Regions from separate parts of the Homo sapiens genome. Here region 2 is linked to region 1. Evidence: promoter capture Hi-C in 16 types of primary human blood cells and fetal thymus (Javierre and others, 2016). All regions are on one chromosome and are shown on one strand. The core of a region is centred on a gene start or on the middle of the fragment in contact, and the rest is flanking DNA. Distances in the headings are between cores, read along the strand shown.

Region 1 (7,567 bases), core at 3,663-6,162:
GTCATGCCACTTCCATGCCTAGGTATTTCCCCGCCACCGTGGGCGGGGCAGACCTGCCTTCCCCAGTGGAGCGTAGGAAGGAATGTGACATCACACTAGGAAGTGGCTTGAAAGTCTTTGAGCCTGATTTTCTGGCATCTAAGTCCTTCATCACCAGGAGTGTCTGCTTAAGTCTATTCCAAGTTGAACGTCTAAATGAATTATTCATTCCTTTCCAAATCCTATTTGAGCAGTTACTGCATGCTCTGCATTGGCCTATGTGGAATGACCCCAAAGTGGAAGCCATCCCAAATGGCTTCTAAGGAGAATTATGAATCTGCCTGAGTCGTGCTCATTAACTTCTGTAAGGCAGGAATCCCATGGTGTTCAAGTACTTCAGAGCCTGAAGACTGTTCCTGTCTAAAACTTCCCGATAAGGTGATGTCAACAGGGACCTGTTGCCCTAGCCATCAGGAGACACCCCAGAGTCATCCCACAGGGCACTGAGTTGTAGGAAAAGGTTCAAAATGTAATCTCCATTCAATAGATTACTGGTCAAGCTCTTCCCAACGGTCTTTGAAAGATCAGAGACAGTGAGACAAAAGCAACCATAGGAGCAGAGATGCAATAATTGTGCTAATAGCAAAGCTTCCTGTGATAGGCTGAAGGTCAGTGGTTTGTAGATTTCTACACTCTTAAAAAGTATTGAGGATTCCAAAGTGCTTTTGTCTATGTAGGTTATGCCTGTCAATATTACTACATTAGAAGTTAAAGGGAGAATTTTTAAACGTTTACTTTCTTATTTAAGTGACAATAAACCCATTACATGTTAACGCAAATATCATACAATTTATGAAAAATAACTCTACTTTCTAAAACAGGCTTATTGAGAAAAGCGGCATTGTTCTACATAGATGCAGATCTCTTTGATGTCTGGCTTACTAGAAGATGACTGGATTCTCATACTTGCTTCTGCAATCAGTGTCATGATATAATATGTCATATAGCTTCTGAAAAGGTCCACCATACACTAATGAGAGAATGAGAATAAAAAAGGAATATAAGGTCTTAATATTACGATGAACATAGTTTTGATTTCACAGATCTTTTTGAAGGGTCTCTCAGGGACCCATAGGGCTCCCACTCTTTGAGGACCTCTTTCTTAAGCTATAAATAGAGATTATTATTTATTTCCCCTACTATCAGCAGTAAACGAGGTTCCTCTGTATATGTATATTCTTCAGCGTTTATGTCCTCATCCAAAACAAAACAAAAGTGTTACTATTTTTATAAAAGTCATATGATTTGCATTCAGAATTATTTCTATGAGCAGTGTTGAAAGGTATTTCTAAATCTTTATGCTATCTTTTTTCATTTTCACTTTATGAATAGATGCATTTGTGTCCTATCTTATTTCTTAGCCTGAGGACTAGTATATATGCCAAGTTTAATGGGTATTGTTGCCCCAAAATGTATGAAGTTAAGACAGGCCATCCCAGTCCCCTGCAGTGCCTCTCACTGGACACTTCTGACATTGCACTTTGCTACTAATTCTGAGAATCTGAAATTTAACTTCCTGGGATGGTCTCTATGCCAAATGTGTTTCCTGATACGTGGAAAATGAACACTTGGCTTTGAAGGCAGAACTGATTCCGGGTATTGTAAACTTAGCAATTAAAAATAACAGGAAACCATAATATTTACTGCAGGTTCTCAATTACCTTGAAAAAAAAAAACTTAAATGTATTCATCTCCTTCGAACATTTAAGTTTTTCCAAATTTATATTTTGCTCTTATAAACGGTGCTGCTGCAAAGATTCTGGTAATGTCCTTTTGTGCGAGTATTTCAGAGGCCATTTAGTGAACGGAATTGCAGAATCATTGGGTAGGTACATCCTCAATTGTATTAGAAAAGCCCTAATTTTTTTCCATAGCTATGTCCTTTAGAGGAAAAGAATTTCATTGCTTCATGTTCTTACCAATATTTGGTAATGTCAGACTTTTAAATTTTGCCAGTTTTGCTGCTCTGATGTAAAAGCTATCCTGTGATTTTATTTTATATACATTTAGATTGAGAGGTTATGCCCAGTTTTCAGAGGTGGCAGTTGTAAAGCCTCCATAACAGGGTGTATAATATGTAATAGATGCTTATCACCATCCCCCTACCAACCCCTCCTTGTCTAATTCTCTCCCACTTGCAGATATTTTTTCAATGGGAATATTCTTAATGTTTTCTAGCATTAGTCAGTGGCCATAGGAAATAATTTTCAGTTGGTTTTTTTTTTTATGAAGTAAATCAACTTCCTCTAGAGATTCATCACTTCATTCTGAGAGCAGGCAAAAAGCAACAAATCTGTGTGTGATGAAAGCATTACAGAATTCTGCTTGGTTGAATTTTACCTTCAGTCTATTTGACCCTCAGACTAGGATATGACGGCTATTCAGAAGGGTAGGAGGGCAACAATTTGGATTAAAGATTTCATATACAAATTTATATTTTACATGATGCATACTACCTTTTATTTGTTCTAACTAAATATCTGATTATTTCCCATTGGCCATATCCCACAGATAATGTTTCCCAATGAGAATGAAACAGAAATATATTCACACGCAACAATTAAACTTTCCAAAACCCAGTATTAGGCTGGGGTGGGTGTTTGGGGCTCCACCAAGATCTTTATACCTTTAAGGCCCTTAAGTTCTCATATTTCCCCTCTATGAGGCTTGGGAATATATAGCAGCATTTCTGTAGCAGACTGCTATTGTTGGGATGAAATGGACTTCTAGAAATGGAAGAAGCAGCCAGGGAGACTGGAAGGAGGTCCTTAAAGCACTTGGTTTCCTGCAGTCCTGGGCTTAATCACTCACTCCCTCGAGCTCCATTCATTAGTTCGCTCAGTCCCTCATCAAATATTTATACAGTTCCCACTGTGTTCCAGGTGATATTCTGAGTGCCAGAAATACAGCTGTACAGAAGACAGACCCTCTTAGAGTTTACAGTCATTCTAGTGTCAAGTAAATAAGAAAATTTTGAAGGATGATTTCAGGCTGGTGAGAACCCTGAAAGCAATTATGATGAAGTGATGGAGAGGGTGTTGGGGAAGTCCTCCCTTCAGAAGGGACTATGGTGCAGCAGAGGCCCTTGTCAAGGCAAGGAGTCCAGCATGTGGAGGTCTGCGAGAAGGGCTTTCCCCAAAGTAGGAAACAGCTAGTGCAAAATCACAAAGGAGGAAACAGTTTGTAAATTCCAAAATAAAATAACACAGACGAAGCCAATAGCCTCAGCTGCCTCAGCCTCCTTAGTAGCTGGGATTACAGGCGTGCACCACCACGCCCAGGTAATTTTTGTTTTTTGCTTTTTGTGTGTTTTTGGTAGAGATGGGGTTTCATTTCACCATGTTGACCAGGCTGGTCTCAAACTCCTGGCTTCAAGTGATCCACCCGCCTCCAATTGTAATTGTTAAGTGAAACATTCAACCATGTTAATAGTTAACTGGCAAAGGATAACCTTTTTTTGTCTATCAAATTAGCAATGATTTAATAATGAGTATTCTCAGTGCCACACACTGCTTGTGTAAGAGGAGCAAATGTCTCTATGGAACATCAAGAACCTGAAAAGGAATCTTGCCCTCTGAATATATGCTAAGCAAATGATTAGGGAAGTAAAAATATTTGAGAAAGGATAACTATTGCACTTTGACTACTGATAGCTAAAACTAGAAATAATCTGGATGTCCACTGAAGGCAGCAAAGCTATCAGATTATGGACCATCCATTTGATAGACTTAGTGACTACTTATAGATTGTATTTCGTATAATAGTAATGTGGGCAAATATTTATGCTAAGTTTTAAAAAGAGTGTTAAACTCCATGTATTATATGGTCTCAGTTATATCCATAGAAATGTTATAAAATATCAATAATTATCTTTAGGTTGTGAAGTTATGGGTGACATTTTTCTTCCTTATATGTTTTAGAAATTTCCACATTCTCTCAAACCATTATTGCTTTCGTAATAAAAAGAAGTTTCTCCTAATTTATTTTATAAAATGTCTTAAATATAATTGACTCCCAAGGGGATTACTCTACCACCTTCCTAACAACCTCCCTATGTAACCTTTTACCTCCTCCCAATCTGCTGTACAATAGTGCCCTATCAATGTGTTTCTTTATGTCGAAAGTTCTTCCAACCTGTTGCCTCCAATATCTCCCATATACCTACTCCTAGTGGTAAAGTCCAAATAGTTCAGTCATGGGTTTAAGACCCTCTGTCATATGAGATTGTTTCCTGAACAACTTTCTCTTCACACTCTTCTTCTCTGGCTAGATTTCTGTTTTTTCTTACCTTGTAATTTTCTCAGTGTCTAGCATAATGTTAACCACTTGGTTAGCACTTTTTAAAAATCTAAAAGTACGCTTGAGAACACAAATATTTCCCCTGTGTTTTTGAATTTGAGAGAGGACATGGGTCCAGTTTTAGGAAAGACAAGAATTCAGAAGCAATCAAGTACAGTGTGGAAGGCAGGACTACGGAATAGCATCTGACGACAAAAACTGTTGAAACAGATGGCTGCTGTCTACAGCCTTGAAAGCAAATGAGAAGCTGCAGTCTGTCCCTGGCTAAGCAGGGTAAGTGACGTAACATGGCTGTGGAGGGAAAATGTAGTGTTAGCCAGGGAAGGATTAACTACATGAACCAAAGCAGGAGTGGGTCCCCACACAGGCTGTGAAACATGCAATACCGTTTCACTAAAGAAGCCTAAGGAATCTCATCCTCAGGATGTGTAGATTGACAGGAAAACCAATGAACACTGTAGAATGGTATCATTGTAGCCTTCCCAGACCCGGAAGCAGAAGCCAAATGGCACTTGGGATCACTTCCAGGTCAAAGGTTCTAAGAAAAACAAGCTTCATCAACTTCACCCTGTAGGTAAATTAATCTCTCAACTGGTTGAACACAGCTTTAGAGATGTCAACAGCCTCCTATGAGTCTAGAGTCAGGTGGTACAGGCTCAACTGGTCTAACAGCTGCAAATTTTGAGAGACTGCTGTGCTAATGTTTGGGGCTCAGATTTAAGGTATAGGTATGATTTACGTACTTTGAGCAGCCAAGCCTTCTTCAGAAGAAACCTGAGCGGCATGTGGTAAGATGAGCATGTTTTTGTTTTGAATGATTAATACTCATTTTAAATAGTACCACCTATTCCTGTAACTCTTCCTCTCCTTAAAATTTAAACACCCCGCCCCCCCCCACACACACACACACAATCTTTGGTTGTAAAATGAATGTTATCACATCAAAAAATTATCCCTTTCCTCTGTCTTCCCACATACATTTTTTCATGTGTACTCCATTTTATGAATTATTGCCATGATGGTGATTCATTCATGTATTTTATTTTAGTAACAGAGGAACAATTTTTCCCTTCCAGCCCAATCCACATTCTTCCCCACCTGCTACGCTCCCTATGCCCTGCACGCTAAGCCAACCTCACCACACTCCCAGAGCCTCACGTCAAAGGCGAAAAGATTTTCTTTTGACAAATAAGCTGGAGGAAATCTCTGATTTTATAATTGCATGGTATTTATACTTAGAAGTCCTTCAATTACTACTTGGGGAACGTACTATATTAAAAATGCTAAACCAGATCCTGACTTGCTAAAATGGGATTAAGTAGCAGCTGTGATCATTTTAAAAAGTTAACACCAGCATTATATCACTCTCCAACCCCCGCACACACCTAAAACCCTAGAATTTGAAAAATATACATTTTGGATGAGTAAGTTTTTTGTTTTATCTGTACTCATCAAGTGATAAAACTAAGAAAATATATTTTGAGATTCTATCCCGTATACTGGACAGAGACTTCCTACATATAAACATCTTGTAACATAGGAAGTCCTGTTTTACACATGAGAAAATGGGGGTTCCATACAACCAGGTGCTTTGTTGTGGTTTCAAAGCTGTGACAGTGCAGGAATTTAGTTCCAGGTCTTTTTCCACCAGACGGCATTCCTGTTGTAAAATAATTCCAGAGACTCCCTAAAAACCTATTTTGCATTTACTGGGGAAAATTTATCTGATAAAGAGAGGAAAACGTGTGAGTTTTAAATGGTGGTTAGCACTGATTTTCCTAATGGTTTTCACATTAACTGGTATCATAACCAAAATGTGGTGCAAAGCTCCCTGAACTCTTCCAGTGAGAAACATTCTTTCAGGTTGGGGGCCAGTGGAGGGGCTGTGGGCTGGACAGGGCTCCTGGCCTCTGTGGTTATACAACTTCAGTTTGACATTGTGTACTTTGTCCTTAGTGTCAATTGTCATTTCTAATTTATAAGTCCTCTCTACCCCTTCCATTTGCAGATTCTAATAGGGCTTCAGATAAGCAATTCATAGAATTGCTACTAACAAAGCAACCATTTTCTGAGAACCTGCTTTATGCTAAGCACTAGGCTTGTCATAATATATTTAATCTTTTTAATCTTAACTCTATGAGTTAGATATTATACCTATATAATGAGTAAATTGAGGCTCAAATACTTTGCCTAAGGTTTCACTCCAGGTAGCTGGTGGAGGCAGTGCTCATACTGGACTCAGACTCTAAGCCAACCTGCCACCTGCCCCTTCTCCCCAGGTACTGAGAGAGTCACCTGCCCCTTAGCATTGCTGTGAGGTAAGAAGGAGGCACTGACTGGGTGTCATCTCTGACCATCAGAGTTAACAAGCTTTAGAGCATGCATTTTGGACAGCAAGTTCACCAATTTTGCCCACCTTCTGGGTCAAAGGAAAAAATAAAAGCGCTTTGTAAAATGTAAAAGTCTATACAAATATTCCCTTTATCATTTTTTGGACAGGTAAAGTGATAAGTTAATAGTAAATTGATAAGAAGTTAATAAACAGTTATTGACAAGGCTCACATTTTAATCCATTTTAGAAGCAAATGAGCAGAGGGAGTAGAGTTTAGCTAGAAGATGGGAGTTAGGGCTCACTGTTAAGCCAATAGCCTCTGACCTCCACTCCCCTCCCCTCCTCCAGCTCCTCCCCACCTGCTTCCCCACAACAGGAAGAACTCTCTGCAGAAGGTCTCCTCACCTTGTTGAGGCCTGGGAATGTGCAAATGTGCAGGTAAGCTGTGGACTGGACAAAGAACAGATTCTCAGGATAACAGTACAAAGTTTGAAAATTTTATTGGAAAATAAGTACAGTCTATTGATCCGTGATGCATGCTGTACATGAATTTGGTGCTTTAATATACAAAAAATTTGGCTTCTGCTGCAAAATTATATAAACAGGTTAAAAAAAACTCCTTCATCAACTAGTACAAACATAATTTATCAAAAATGTCATTTAAAAAATGGCTCAATACCTTTTATTGCAAATAAGAAAGGCAAGAGAGGGAAAATATAAATTGTGCTAAACCAGTTTTAACAACCGGTAATTAAATATTTTGTTGCATTTGCAAACTCTTCTTCAACACTTAGGGCATCTTTAAAAAAATGCCATAAAAAAACTGCAAGAAAATCTAATTAATGTGGAAGGCATTAAAAGTTTTTTGTTTTGTTTTAGTGGGGACAATAAGTCAAA
Region 2 (7,567 bases), core at 2,417-4,916, 280 kb before region 1:
TCCCCAAAGTCAAACTTCCACTGCTCAGAGTGAAACAGAGGGGATGGGTAAAGGCAAAATCAAGTCCAGGAGACCCCCCCTATATGGAAGGAGAGGGTAAATACCACAGTGTAGTCTGGGTGGATGGGGTGGGCATGAATGTAAGCTTTGAAATAAGACAGATCTTCACACCAGAGTTAATGTCAGATTCTTACAGTTCTACTGTGATAGCTTCCCTAAGGGAATACAAACTTTGCAAGGGGGAAAAATTTGAAGCTATGTGAACTTGGGCAAGTCTTAAACCTCTTTCAGTCTCAGTTACTTTATCCACGATGATGATGGTGATGATGATGATGATGCCTATTCTAAAGATGTTTGAGGATTAGGTGACATGACAAATAACAGAAAGAAAAATGCTTAATACAGAATTGATACCAGATTAGTATTAGATTCATTTTATTTCAAAGTGATTATAAACTCCACATAGGTAGAAGTCTAATATCCTTCAGTATCCTATAATACTTCCTAATAAGTTACTTGTCCACAAAACATCCTAAATTTATTGGATGGTGGAAATAAGACAGACAGGTGGTTAAAAATGAAACGTGTCATTTTTCTCTATTTACCCACATTGTCACCAGTCACCACTGTTTAGACAATAAGTCACAGGGCTAGTTGAACCCAGTCTAAAATGGCTGAGCTAGCAATTGTATCTTCCCTAATCTTTCCTCTTTGTTCCAAGGGCTGATCCCCTCCCACTTCCACCCCACTCAACCCATAACCCATCACCAACAACACCTACATTAGGAACGCCTAGTAGGTCTGTTTTCCCTCTTTTCTTTCTTTCCTCAACTAAATTCCTATTCCCTTAGGGGGGACCATGACACTGGATTTCGAGGAACACTGATTCTCATTAAGGTAGGTGGATAACGTGTTCTGACATTGGGAAGAGGCTGCTTTTGTTAGCAGAAGGATTGCTGATAGATATTCAGGCAGTTTAGATAAATGGACATTGCAAACATAAGCCAATGAGATGTGGGCAATACCGTGGACCAGAGGAGACTGCAGTTTTCTCCTTTACTCAGGCTTCGAGTACGTGCATGAGTGTGGAGGAAGCCAGCTGAACTTTATTCACAATTAGTCTTCAAAGAACCAACTCATATACCAGTGACCAGTGCCACCTCCCATTTTCTATAATTCAGTGCAGGTAAATCTATTCCTCCTTCAAGGCTTCTGCCTGCTTCATATCATCTCCAGCATCACATACCCAGGTAAGCTTGGGAACTGTATTAATTTTCTCAGGCTGTCATAACAAGTTATCACAGACTGGGTGGCTTAAACAACAAAAACTTATTTTCTCATGAACAAAAACTTATTTTCTCATGATTCTGGAGGTGGGAAGTCCAAGATCAAGGTGGTAGCTGATTAGGTTTCTGGTGAGGCCTCTCTTCCTGACTTGTAGATGGTTGCCTTCTTGCTAAGTCCTCATGTGGCCTTTTTTCTGTGCAAGCTAGTGTGAGAAAGAAAGAATCTCTGGTGTTTCTTCCTGCAAGGACAATAATCATATGGGTCCAGGGTACTACCCCTGTTACCTCATTAACTTTACCTCCTAAAGACCCTATCACCAAAATCAGACACACTGGAGGTTAGGGGGTAGGGCTTCAAATGTGCATTTTAGGGGGACACAATTCAGTCCATAGAAGAAAACTTTAGGAGAGCTTTCCACTGCCTGGCTCTGGCTTCCTGTGATGAAACTAGTTGTGACCTGTAAAAGAATTTGTTCTCTTTGTTGTCTCGATTGGCAGAACCTGAGTTTTCTTCAGTACTCTATTAAAACAGAAAAGTATGCCAGTATCCCTGGTACAGGACACTTCCATAGCTAGCTTTTTACTTCTGAAATCTGTCCTTTGTTACAAGACAGAGTTTATGTCCCCTAACAATATAGTACTTATGATTATCAGCCTTTAGCAAAGGGAGGGTTTTTGTTAAAGCACTAGAGAGACTCTCCAAAGATCCATCTGTATTAAATCATTGAAATGAACTGCTTATCCCAGAATGCTCTGCTGCAGAACAGATCCTGTAGCTACCAGCTGAGTGGCCACTGAAGCAGAGGCCAGGAAGCATTTTTATACCTAACCAATCTGCCAAGGGTGCCTCAGAAGGAGAGAGCAAGATTCTAAACCTCCACATTTAGTTTCCCCCAATGCTTTAAGTTGAGGCGAAGATAAATATCTCCACCTCGGTAACATGGGCTAGCAATACCACGCTGTCCCCAGATACTTCCCTGCCAGTCTGAGCTTCCATAACTGATAAGACATCCTTCCCTTTGCTTGAATACTTCACTTCTCCATCACCTTCATGACACATAGATGAAAGCATGCTCCTGAACAAAAAAAATAAAAACAAAAACAAACAAATTCTAACATTGATAAGAAACAATTAGCGCACAGTGGGCAAAGAAGGCCTGGGAAACACATGTGTGGTTCCAGAAATTTATGAGGCTAGAAGCAGGGGGTGGGTAATAGGCTCTTGTCAACCAGTAGGCAGGACCTATCCATGGGGTATTTGCCCAGTGCTCAGATGTAAAGGAAGCTGAAAGCCTCTTGGGTCAGGTGGGAGTGGTGGCTCATGCCTGTAATCTAAGCACTTTGGGAGGCCAAAGTGAGAGGATCCCTCAAGCCCAGGAGTTTGATACCAGTGCTAGTAACATAGGAAGATTTCATCTCTACAAAAATTAATAATAATAATTTTAAAAAGCAGGGCATGGTGGTATATACCTGTAGTCCCAGCTAGTCCCAGCTCCTCTGAGAGGGGATTGGGGGAATTGCTTGAGCCCAGGAGGTTGGGGCTACAGTGAGCCATGGTTGAGCTGCTGCACTCCAACCTGGACAACAGAGTGAGACTTTGTCTTAAAAAAAAAAAAAGTCTTTTACAGTGAGGTCATGTTTTGATAATTGAACCAGCATGGGTGGGATTATGCCATTTTGTAGGCAAATGAATTTGTGCACATGGTTCTTGGTCCAAAGTCATTACTGGAACTACTCAGGTAAGAGGGTTTCTAATCAGAATCAGGATGTTTTCTGTGTGAGAAACAAAGATGGGCTTCTGAGGCATAGGACAGCAGGGGCAGGGGCAAAATTTAGGGGCCCAGACATTGGTTCTGCCTCCTCCAGACTCAAGGGTGTGGCCTAACCAGTGCTCAGTTTTGTTCAAGAACCAAGAGCACCCAGGGTTTGTAAGCCCCTCATACAAAAGTCACAGACTGTTCACAATTTTATGTGAAATAGTGATAGAAGCCCTGAGGATCAAGACTGGTAGGGTACCCAGGATGAGGCTATTTTGGCACCTTTGATAGGAATCTCACAGCATGGAGAAAGTGATGGATCTGTAGGAGATCAAATGACCAAGAACATCTTTGCAAGCTATACTGCATGTGCTCCTCCCACAGCAGCCAGCCCTATTCTACTGAGTTTAGTGTCTGTGTATGTTGTTGGATGAGGACCAGTGATGTTGGATGGGTACATGTGATTGTAATTGATCATACCAATTAAACCCACTTGCCATAAGGTACCCACACTTGCACACTCACAGTGAATCCCATTTTACTGAGAAATATGCTAAATGATGGGACTGCAGTGTATTCTGTTCCCTTTGAGAAATGTCTATATTGTACCTACCTGGCAAAAGGGAAGAGACATTTAGTTAATTTTAAGAGAGAAAATCAGAAAGACTTGGAAAAGCGTTGAAGGTGGCCTGCCGCAGTGGCTCACACCTGTAATCCCAGCCCTTTGGGAGCTGAGGCGGGTGGATCATGAGGTCAGGAGTTCGAGACCAGCCTGACCAACATGGTGAAACGCCGTCTCTACTAAAAATACAAAAATTAACTGGGCATGGTGGTACGCATCTGTAATCCCAGCTACTCCAGAGGCTGAGGCAGGAGAATCACTTGAACCCGAGAGGCAGAGGGTTGCAGCGAGCCGAGATCGCACCACTGCACTTCAGCCTGGGCGACGGAGTGAGACTCTGTCTCAAAAAAAAAAAAAAGAAAGAAAGAAAGAAAAAAAACTGTTGGTAAGAGCGCCTACTGGAATAAGTTGTCAATACCTGTTGTGCAAGTCTAGGAGTGGGGTGCGAAGGATTCTTCATTAGGATCTTCACTTGTGTGGTGGTACACAAAGAGCTCAGTTCAGTTGAGCAATGATTGCCTGAACTGCCTTGTCACAGGCACATAGTGCAGAATCAAAAGGCAAGAAGTAGGAATTATGCGGGGAAATGAGACAGAACAACATAGAGGGAAATCAGGATGCTGTCCACCAAAAGAGAACTGTTTCAGTGTGAATTTCTTAACTCTGAAAACCATGACAGTTTCAGATGAGAAAACCCTCAGAACACTCTGAGACGTTAAGAAAGAGAACAAAAAAGACTCAACTTTTTTTGTCAGTTAGGACACTTTAAACTCCGCAACAATAATAAATCATCTAGAAACTTCAGTGGCTGAACATAGGTAGTTTACTTTGTACCCACATTATAGTTTCAATGTGGATAAGGAACACCTTTATCATGTGGGCATGCCAGCTCAAGCATGTAGCCTCCAAGGTCACAATGGGCAAGACAGAGTGTGCAAAAGTTATATCTGCATTGCCTCAGTCTAGAAATCACCCTATCACATCCACTCTACTTCTAGAAAATATTAGTCACGTGTCCCAAACCAACTACAAAGAAGGCTGGGAAAAGTGGCTGTGTGTTCAGAAAAACAAAATGATTTTGGTGAACACGTAACATTTTCTCTGTCACATCGCTGCAGTTAGCTCTAGTTAAAGTACAATTGCGTACATGATCATCCATCCGTAACTGAGTGGTTGATTTGTAAATAGCTTCTTATGAGATCTGATCAGTTGAAGCAAATGCGACCTTAAAAAATGTAGTGAGGCAATGGTGGGAGAAGAGCAACGCCATTTTCTGCAGATATCTTAGTAAATTCAGCCTGTTCAATTATCCAGTTACAGATGTGGGGCTTATGAAAAACTCCTAGACGTGAAATGAACCAGAATACAAAGGTAAGAAAAGCCAGTAAGTGATATTTAACTGTGCCAAGTTCTGGTCAGAGACTTTCCTGTATATAGTTGGCTTTTTAAAGGGCACAGAAACTTACCTGGGGGTGGTACAATCAGAGGTTAAATGGGGCGTTTTTCAGTTGACCTTGAATTTTGGCAAAGGTAACAAATTTAAGGACTTAGAGTGGCAAGTGCACTCTCAGTTCAAACAGAGATGTTAGACAAAACCCCTGCAGGACTTGCTAAGGGTAGCCAAACTGGTCCAGCACTCGCATCCCCAGAGACCTATGTAAAAGACCCTACAGCCCCCCAATTAGAGAGCTCCAAGGTCACAACTCATAGATGCGAGGCTTTCTGCCAGCGGGGAAGACTGACATTTCACCCCTGCTAAAGCTGTACAGAGCTGAGTTCTCATCCCCACAGAATCTATGTAATTGGAATGTAGACAAGTAAAAAAAGTCTTGAAAGAGTTTATAATCTTTTCTTTGGGTTTCAAAAATCAGACTGGTGCCTGATCCTCGGCAGGATATCATTGACAATGGCAGATCAGCTGGAACAAATGCAGTTGGAGAGCAAGGAAAGAGAGGGAAGCCTGGGAGCAATGGTGGGGAAAGTGGGCATCCAATTCCCCATGAACCAGGTGAATGCTGTGCAGAATAACCAGGTTAGAGTCACATTGGAAGAATGGACCATTAGGGGCTTTACTGCATGGGGCAGAAGACGAGGTGGAGACAGAGAAGGTATCACCTTCATCAGGTGCACCAGGAGCAGTGGACATCTTGGTAGGGTTAGGGAGAATGGGTTTACATTTTTATTTTTAAATTAACATACAATAAAATTAGCTTGTTTGATTTACAGTTGTGTGCATTTAAATACGGATGTAAATTCACATAATCACCAAGACAATCAGGTTACATGCTCTTTCTTTGAGACCCGCCCTCCTCCATCCCTAACTCCTGGAAACCAATAATCTGTTCTGTCACTGTTTTGACTTTTTGAAAATGTCATAGAAATGGAATCATGTAACCTTTAGAGATAAGCTTTTTCTACCCAGCATACTGCATTGAGATTTATCCAAGCTGGTGCATGTCTCAGTGGTGAATTCCTTTGTATTGCTGAGAAGTATTTCATGGTTTGCTTGTACAACTATTTGTTAATTAATTCACCCTATACCAGTTATCAATTTATCACCAGTTATCAATGTATTACCTCACAGCTCTGAATTCACCATTCAGTACCTGCTGTGTGTAATGGATTGAATTTTTGAAGCATTCATCCTATACAGTGAGCATAGTATTCACCTCTTTGGTACAGGGAGTTGGACAAGCATTACAGGAGGGTCCGTCTGGTTCCAGCTGCTGTGTTCTGTTTTTTTTTCTCACTTGTGCTGCACCATCAGGCAGCAGTGTGTGTGTGTAGACATCTGTTGGTGCTCTGCACTAGCTATATCCAGAGGAAGCCGTTGCTCAGTGACCTCGCAGTACTAGCTTAGGCCAGGTGACCACCTCCCAATATCTTCCTGATGTGGACACTGTGCACTCCAGGCCGCATGCCCACAGTGGCATTCTGAATGCCCTGTGTACCCGCATATCAACTACAGCTCGCCTGCATCCTAAAGCAGTCATGGCCTGGCCATGCTGCATGTCTGCCCACCAGCCATGGCTTGACTGCACCTGACAGGTTTGCTTCCAGCTTTCCCAGCAACTGTGAACTAGCTCTGACCCAGGCACGTAAGAGACCTTCCTTGCCATTCAGTGGGCTACACCACACTGCTTCTAGTGATGTCTGAACCCCAGTCTTGGGGAGGGGACCACTTGCAACTTTGTCTTTCTACTATCTCTCAGCCCTGAGATACTCTTTGGAGTTCTATTCATGTCCTTATAATCAGTCTCTCATCACAGCCAAATAATCATTTATATCATAATATCCCTTTTTAAATTACTACATGATTTCTGTCTTTTGATTGGACTTTAGCTGACACATACTGGTTGAAAGTCCTTGAGTTTTTCTAGGTATTAGTTATTATGAGTAGAGCCACAATAAACATTTGTGTATTGGATTTTGTGTGAACGTAAGTTTTTATTTCTCTGGGGTAAATATCTACAAGTAGGATGTTTTGGGCATCTAGTAAGGAAGTCACATTATAAGGACTTGTTAAATTGTTTTGTAGGGTGGCTGCACTATTTTGCACTCTCACCAGTAGTATATGAGAGTTCTAGTTTCTCTACATCATCACCATTTCGTGTTGTTAGGTTTCTTTTCTTTTTCTCTATGTGCCCCATGGTGTGTGTGTGTGTGTGTTTTCTCCTTGTGGCTTTAATTTCCATTTTCCCAGTGGATGGTGCTGTTGCACATCTTTTTATGTGCCTGTTTGCCATCTGTCTGTCCTCTTTAGCAAAATGTCTATTCAAGTTTTTGCTCCTTTTTTAATTGGTAGCTACTTGTTATTATTGAGTTTAGAGAAATCTTTATAAACTCTCAGCACAAGTCCTTTATTGGACTTGTGATTTTGAAATAATTTTTGTCAATTTAAA

Evidence for each region. The method cuts DNA at HindIII sites, captures the fragments that hold promoters and counts their contacts. A CHiCAGO score of 5 or more calls a contact.
Region 2: a fragment that was not itself captured here is called in contact with the fragment with the promoter of IL1R1-AS1 in region 1 in 2 of 17 cell types (activated CD4 T cells and total CD4 T cells); the score reaches 7.2 in activated CD4 T cells.

Annotation. Positions count from the first base shown.
Region 1 is chr2:102,179,453-102,187,019 of GRCh38, reverse strand. It overlaps IL1R1-AS1 (IL1R1 antisense RNA 1), which reads left to right and starts at 4,912. Exons shown (of 3, transcript NR_174960.1): 1 at 4,912-5,126; 2 at 7,019-7,108. It overlaps IL1R1 (interleukin 1 receptor type 1), which reads right to left. Exons shown (of 12, transcript NM_000877.4): 12 at 7,146-7,567. It also overlaps a transcript of IL1RL2 not described here. RefSeq lists an enhancer at 1-341. The HindIII fragment of the contact is 1,818 bases long and covers 4,893-6,710 here.
Region 2 is chr2:102,460,468-102,468,034 of GRCh38, reverse strand. No RefSeq gene overlaps it. Among named protein-coding and RNA genes, the nearest start is that of SLC9A4, 9.0 kb to the left of the region's middle. The HindIII fragment of the contact is 4,818 bases long and covers 1,258-6,075 here.